2 separate regions of the Homo sapiens genome follow, and region 2 is linked to region 1. Evidence: promoter capture Hi-C in human tissues and cell types (Jung and others, 2019). All regions are on one chromosome and are shown on one strand. The core of a region is centred on a gene start or on the middle of the fragment in contact, and the rest is flanking DNA. Distances in the headings are between cores, read along the strand shown.

What was found. The method cuts DNA at HindIII sites, captures the fragments that hold promoters and counts their contacts. A contact is called where the count stands out against the background at its distance.
Region 2: a fragment that was not itself captured here is called in contact with the fragment with the promoter of CEBPZ in region 1 in 1 of the 25 tissues and cell types used here (heart right ventricle).

Annotation. Positions count from the first base shown.
Region 1 is chr2:37,229,880-37,233,725 of GRCh38, reverse strand. It overlaps CEBPZ (CCAAT enhancer binding protein zeta), which reads left to right and starts at 2,130. Exons shown (of 16, transcript NM_005760.3): 1 at 2,130-2,314. The coding sequence starts at 2,159. NDUFAF7 (NADH:ubiquinone oxidoreductase complex assembly factor 7) reads right to left here and starts at 2,068. Exons shown (of 10, transcript NM_144736.5): 1 at 1,966-2,068; 2 at 1,460-1,620. The coding sequence starts at 2,020. RefSeq lists enhancers at 2,179-2,628, 1,586-2,785. The HindIII fragment of the contact is 15,525 bases long and covers 1-3,846 here.
Region 2 is chr2:38,846,161-38,850,006 of GRCh38, reverse strand. It overlaps DHX57 (DExH-box helicase 57), which reads left to right. Exons shown (of 24, transcript NM_198963.3): 10 at 1,605-1,738; 11 at 2,934-2,988. The region is part of intron 2 of LOC105374470 (a long non-coding RNA gene); the gene reads right to left. Among named protein-coding and RNA genes, the nearest start is that of DHX57, 28 kb to the left of the region's middle. The HindIII fragment of the contact is 5,686 bases long and covers 1-3,846 here.

The sequences.
Region 1 (3,846 bases), core at 881-3,380:
CCTTGGCTTTAAATATGACCTATATGCTGATGACGAGCAAATGTATATATGCCTGCCCAGTCTTTCTTCTGAACACCAGGCTCACTTTTTTTTTTTTTTTTTTTGAGACAGAGTCTCGCTCTGTTGCCCAGGCTGGAGTGCAATGGCGAAATCTAGGCTCACTGCAACCTCTGCGTCCCGGGTTCAAGCGATTCTCCTGCCTCCTGACTAGCTGGGATTACAGGCACAAGCCACCACGCCCGGCTAATTTTTGTATTTTTAATAGAGACGGGGTTTCACCAAGTTGGTCAGGCTGGTCTCAAACTCCTGACCTCGTGATCCACCCGCCTTGGCCTCCCAAAGTGCTGGGATTACAGGCGTGAGCCGCCACGTCCGGCCCTGAACGCCAGACTCTTACAGCGAATTGCCTACTTTCTATCTCCACCTGCATGTCACTGCTAACAAAATATGTATAAAATGCAGCTCCTGGTGTAGGCCCTCTCCCTAGTACTCCTCCAAACCTGGTCCTGTCTGTCTTAATCTCAATAAAAGGTACCATCATCACCCAACTGCTCAAGCTAAAAGTACGAATCAGCCTTGATTCCTCCGTTCCATCACTCAATCCATCGGCAAATCCTGTCAGTCCCTTTCTAAATCACCCTCTTCTATTTCTAGTACCACCACACTAGTCTAAGCCACCTATCTTGCAGCCCTGCCTAACCGGCATCGAAAGAAAGATACCGGCCTTGGGTAAACCTCGACACTAGAGTCACACTACCATATCCAACAACAATGGCCAATCTAACCCCAGAATTCCACAGAGGTCATATTTCAACCCAGCAAAAGATGAAATATTCTAAAATAAAGGACTATAGGCTTTCACCAAATGGCTCTGTAGAACAGACAAGGAAACGTGGGTCAGAAAGCTGTGACTGTGCCTAATCCTAGAACAGTGAAGACGACCCAGACTGCATTCTCAACTGCACATGTGAGAAAACCCAGCACATGTCTCCAATGCCAGCTGAAGCCATTCCAACACAGACGACTTTCCAGGCAGTAATTCCTATTTCCAGCTGCCTGTTGGAGATTTCTACCTAAGAGTCCCACACACTTCAAATTCATATACCAGCCTGAACTCTCCATCCTTCCTCCCGTATTCCTTCTCCCAAAGCAATGAATCCACACCACCCACCATCAGCCAAGTAGGAAAGTCATCCTTCCCGCATCATAAATCCAATCAGCTACATTCTGTCTCCTAAACACCCTTGGACCGTGTCCTCTCCTCTTTACTGGCACTGCCTCTGACGTGAGCCAGCCCTGACCAACTGACAAATTATCTGTCCCCAGGTCCTCAGAAATGGCTCTTCCCCTGGCAGGCACCCCCACTGCCTGGGCTGAGAACCTTCGGGCTTCTCCCTCCTGGCTTGCACCTCGCAAATCGGCTAGAGAGGGCCTAGTCCTCGGGCTACCCGACCCATACCTTGGCTGGATTAGTCAACACCTCCTTCATGTACTCGGCCACAGTGATGGGACCAGTAGACTTTATTTTGTACATAAGATGCCGCAGCATCGGCGTCACCGGGTTTTCTGCAGGCTCATTCCCGGAGCTGAAGTATTTCCCTCTCCAAATAAAAGGAATGGCTGCGAAAAACACAAATTAAACAGACCCCATGATAAATCTGACCATTCACGAGCGCAAGCCGCCTGAGCGTTTTCAAAACAGCTTCGTGAACCCTTAACCTCGCCCCACCGCAGACCGCGGGCTACTGTGCTTAGCACGCCCACGGGGCGCAGAGACAGCACCCACTTGCCCACGACTACGCAGCCCTATTGCGTTTGTACCGGACCCGTTTCCAGCCCAGGGTACCTTCAAGGTGGAAGTGAGCCCCCGAGCCCTTGATCCCCCGGTACCCTCAACTGAAGAGCTGAGGAAGGCGCCCCACGCGGCTTCCACGGCAACCGGGCTTCGAGGGGACTGACGCTTACCTGCGCGCGCCACGGCACACAACGGCCCCAAACCTGACCTCAGCAGTACACTCATGCTGAAATTCGCAGGCTAGCTCGCTCCGCCAGGAGCTGGGGCTTAGACCATTTCCGGGAGAAGACACGCCCCGACAGGAATTACGCCACTGGCAGAGCGGAAATAGGCTGAGTTTCACGCGCGTATGCTTTGCCCGCCATGGCCGCAGTCAAGGAGCCTTTGGAGTTCCATGCCAAGCGGCCTTGGCGCCCCGAGGAGGCAGTAGAAGATCCGGACGAGGAGGATGAGGATAATACTAGTGAAGCCGAGAATGGGTTCTCCCTGGAGGAAGTGTTACGGCTCGGAGGCACCAAGGTAACGGCCGCGGGCTCCGGGGAACGGGATCAGGCGTGGAGAGTTCCGAAGGTGGCTAGGCTGACTGCCCCGCCGCTTCCGCGCTGCGTAGAGCGCGGGCGTCCAGGACCGAGATCCCAGCCTCTGAAGCATGTGTTCGGTGCGCTTCCCACGCCGGTTTCCACTGCTGTTTACAAAAGAAAAGTTTCGAATTGAACGTTGTATTCTCTGGCTATTCTTAGGATGTAGGCGATCTTCTGATTTTATTGACGTGGTATAACCATCACACCATCAGGTCGGAGAGTGGCTTTTCTTGGTCCTGACCTTGTGGTATGAGTGTTTTGAACACCAGTGGTATTGGAATTTTCATTTCTGTTCTCATAGAGTACATGCACGTGTCACTGTATGCCCCAGAAGCCCTCTTTTTTGGAGCATCCTAATTAAGGGAGAGAAACAGTAAACAAACTTTTAAACACATAGTACAGCAGACGCGGGGTAGTGCTATAAAAGAAAATAAAACAAGGAAGGACGATAAGGAGTGGGAGCGCGTTAGTATTAAATGAGATGATCGACAAACACATCACGGAAATGTTTGAGCAGAATCCTAAAGGACAGGAAGGAGTGAGCTGCCATTCCAGTCAGTTGGAACAGCAAATGCAAAGACAGGCAGAAGAGTGCCTAACCTATTCCATGAGCAGCCAAAATGCCAGTGTAGCAGAGGCAGAGTGAGTTAAGGGGAGAATAGTAAGAAAGGAGGGCCGAGGGGTCAGAGGGCAGGCTTTTGCTCTGAGTTTGATGCAAAACCACTGGAAGATTTTAAGCAGATAAGGAACAGAAATTAACTTTGTTTTTAATATTATTTTGTTTGGAGACTGGACTTTCAAGGTGGAGGAGTTAGTTAGAGATAGGCAGATTCACAGTTTGCTCTGTGCTTGTGTATATTTAAGTTTTGAATAGGTAATATATACACATGAAACACGTGGTGCAAACTTTAAAAGATACATAGTGAAGTCAAATTGTTTCCACTTTTATCTCAGCCATAACCATTGCCCTGATAGGAAGCAATTATTTTTACAACTGCATTTTATATCTTTCAGGGATACTATATACCTTTTCAAGCATATACATACTCATTTATGTGTATGAAATACGGGTGTATCTTTTTTACATAAATGGTACCATATATATACACCTATCTCTACATTTTGCTTTCTTTTCTGTCTTAGAAATCCTTCTATATCAGTGCATAACGTTCTGTGTCATTGCTATGGCTGCATAAATCATTTTGTCTGTCTTAATTTATCTAACCAGCCATTTATTGTGAATATTTAAATTATTGCCAGTCTTTCACTATTTTAAATAATACTACAGTTAATAACCTTAATCGTGTTTTTCCCCCACTTTTGTAAGTGTATATGTAGTATAAATTTGTAGAAATGAGCCAGGCACAGTGGCTCACACCCATAATCCCAGCACTTTGGGAGTCAGAGGTGGGAGGATACCTTGAGTCCAGGAGTTTGAGACCAGCCTGGGCAACATAAGGAGACCTCATC
Region 2 (3,846 bases), core at 759-3,258, 1.6 Mb before region 1:
TAGTGGGAGAGCTCATCAATAAGCAAGATAAATAAGTAAAATACAGAATATGGTAAGTGCTAAGAAGAAAAAATAAAGCAGAAAAAAGACAATAGAAATTCAAGGGAGGAGGGCATTTGAAATTTTAAATAAGGTAGCCAAGGAAGTCCTCACTGAAAAACTATCTTTGGAGTAAGGACTTGAAGGAAGTGAGGGAGCTACCTGTGTGAAGGGCTAGGAGAAGCCCAGTAATCCAGGCAGATTAATAACATGTACAAAAGACCCAAGGTGCATGCCTCAAAGACGGCAAGGAGAACAGTGAGCCGGTGCTGAGTGAATGAACGGGAGAGTACTAGAAAAAGATGGGGAGCATGGGGTGTAGACCGTGCCATATAGAGCCTTGTTAGTAAGAATTCTAATGAGAAGTCATTGGATTTTAAGCAGAAGAGTGGCACAATCAGATTTTTCTTTTTTTTTTTTAAGAGATGGGGTCTTGCTATATCGGCTAGGTTGGTCTTGAACTCCTGGCCTCAAGCATTCCTCCCACCTCAGCCTCCCAAACTGCTAGGATTACAAGTGTGAGCCACCGCACCCCGTCAGCACAATCAGACTGACATTCGAAGAGCATTATTGGTTGGCTGTATTGAGAACAGATTGCAAGGGGGCAAGGGCCAAGAGACCAATTAGGGTGGTGTTATTCTGCCGTGCATACTATTCCAGGCAACTTGGGATTTTTCCTACTAAAAATATGTCTTAGAGATGTTTTCATGTTATTTTCTAGAGCTCTACCTTATTCCTTGTATCTGCTTCATGTTATTTCATAGACTGGATGATATTGTTATAATTAACCATTTATCAGTTAGTTGATGGACATTTGGGTAGTTTCTACTGTCTTACTATTACAAACAATGCTATAATGAAAATCTTTGTATGTGCCTCTTTGTGGTACACATAGATATCAAGAAGTAGAATTATCAAATTTGTACCCTATACCAGCTAAGAGTAAAAAAATAATAATTATAAAATTTGATTATCAATCCTGTTGGGATTTTGATTGGTACTGCCTGGATTTGGTTTCTTTGGGAAAGAATTTATATCTTTATACAGGTTGAGCATCCCTAATCCAAAAATCAGAAATAATCCAAAATCTGAAACTTCTTGAGTGCTGACATGACACTACAAGTGGTAAGATTCCACACCTGACACCTTTGCTCTCCGATGGTTCAATGTATACCAACTTTATTTCACAGACAAAATTATTCAAAATATTATATACAGTTACCTTTAGGCTGTGTATATAAGGTATATATGAAACATAAATTGATTTCTTGTTTAGATTTAGACCCCATCCCCCAGATATCTCATTATGTATATGCAACTATTCTAAAATCTGAGAAAATTTGAAATCTGAAACACTTCTGGTTCCAAGCATTTCACATAACAGATATTCAACCTGTAATAGTAAGGCTTCACATCCAAGAACAGGACATATTGTTCTATGAACGTTAATGGTTTTTTTTTTTCACAGAGATCTTACACATTTCTTGCTCAAAATATAGTAAAAGTTACTAATTTTCATGTGTTGAATTTGTTTGATCCTCAGGTGTTTCTTTTATTTTCTCTAGTGACTTCTTGCTGCTAGTTTTGAAGGACATTGTATCGCAGAGGCCAGGTCTTCAAGTTATTTTAATGAGTGCAACTCTAAACGCTGAGCTTTTTTCAGACTATTTTAATTCCTGCCCCGTTATTACTATACCAGGTGAATAAAATGCATCATTAAATATGTATCATTCTAATAAGCAAATATAATTATTTTAAAGTTTGAGACATAAGTAGATATTTATACCTCTTTCTAGAGAAGCGATTCATTTATAACATAAAATCATAAACCATATAATGCAGCTGATAAGGAGGTAACATATCTTGCTGGGAGATTTTTTTTTTTGAGACAGAGTCTCGCTCTGTCACCCAGGCTGGAGTGCAGTGGCGTGATCTCGGCTCACTGCAACCTCTGCCTCCCGGGTTCATGCCATTCTCCTGCCTCAGCCTCCCGAGTAGCTGGGACTACAGGTGCCCGCCACCTCACCCAGCTAATTTTTTGTATTTTTAGTAGAGACGGGGTTTCACTGTGTTAGCCAGGATGGTCTCCATCTCCTGACCTCACGATCTGCCCGCCTCGGCCTCCCAAAGTGCTGGGATTACAGGTGTGAGCCACTGCACCCGGCCATTGCTGGGAGATTTTAATTTTTTTAGGGGACTTTTAAAAAAAGTCATAGTTACTTATTTCTAGCATTCCATTGTGTTTAACATCAAAGTTGATAGTGGCAGTCTGTCATAAAGAGGGAACTTGTGTCTGTGACAGTATATTTGTTCATTTCTGGATTCTGCTAAATTTCTGGGTGTTGGTCCACTCTGGCAGAAAGTGACATTGGACAGTCTGTGTTTTCTTTGGGCACTTCCACAGTCTCATTGTGGAATTAATTTATCACCCTGAGCTTTGATTTATCCTTCTTCAATTGAATACTAAAAAGACACTTTGGAAACACTGACTGATAAAAAATAGTGCAGTTTGTTTTAGTTATAGGGAATGCTGGCAGTAAATCTAAGGAAGAAACTTTGTGTTTGATCTAGAATACAACTGTTGAATGTTTAAAGGTCCTCTATGGTGGAAGTGGCGGGGGCAGGGGAGGAGGGTATGAAAGGTGTAACAGGTAAAAGAAAAAAAGTCTTAGCAAAGGATCATTTCTCTACCTATACACTGCTTCTGTTTACTGACTGAAATCTGCCCTTTCCAATTTCTGTTACCAGAACTTTTCTTCTTGATACTTTTAAGACCACAGAACAAATAGGACGTTAGCATGACAAGCTTTAAGAGAATTTTATATATATAAACTATTTCAAGATGGTTGAATGGGTGTTCTCAGGCTTTCTATTTTGTCTCCTTGTTTTTCTAGGTCGTACATTTCCTGTTGATCAATTTTTTTTGGAAGATGCAATTGCTGTGACAAGGTAAGGAAGATATTAATTAAGATTCAGTGAAAGGACCTGGCATGGTGGTTCATCCCTGTAATTCTAGCACTTTGGAAGGCAAAGGTGGGAGGATCTTTTGGGGCCAGTTCAAGACCAGCTTGGGCAACATATTGGGACCCCCATCTATTGAGAAAAAAAAAAAGATTCAGTGAAACTTTGAAAACAGAATAATATTTGACCCTCAATGTGCCAGAATACTAATACATGTGTTAGTCTTTTTTTCTAATTTTTCTGCACTTGATTTCAGCCAAAAAGCCAAGAAGTGATTTTCTTCTATTTTTTCTGTTTGAACATTTTGTTCTCCCCTCTCTTTCAGCAAACAGACTGCCAATATTTAAGTCCCTCTACTTACTTTTTCTTTCTTTCTTTTTTTTTTTTTTTGAGATAGAGTCTTACTCTGTTGCCCAGGCTGGTGTGCAGTGGTGTAATCATAGCTCACTGCAGCCTCGAATACCTGGCTCAAGCAGTCCTTCTACTTCAGCCTCCTGAGTAGCTGAACTACAGACACACACCCCCATGCCTAATTTTTTTTAATGGTTTTGTAGAGACGGGTCTCATTATGTTGCCCAGGCTGGTCTCAAACTCCTGACCTCAAGCAGTCCTCCTGCCTTGCCTCCCGAAGTGCTGGGATTACAGTCATGAGCCACCATGCCTGGCCCCCTCTACTTACTATAACTTTGGCAAGTAGCTTAATCTCTCTGTACTTTAGTTTTAATGAATTTATACTTGCTGATTCTGCTGAGAGCATTAAAAAATTAATGAATTAATACTTGCAAAGTGCTTAGAACTGTGCTTGGCACATAATGCATGCTCTCAAATGTTAGCAGTTATTGGCTG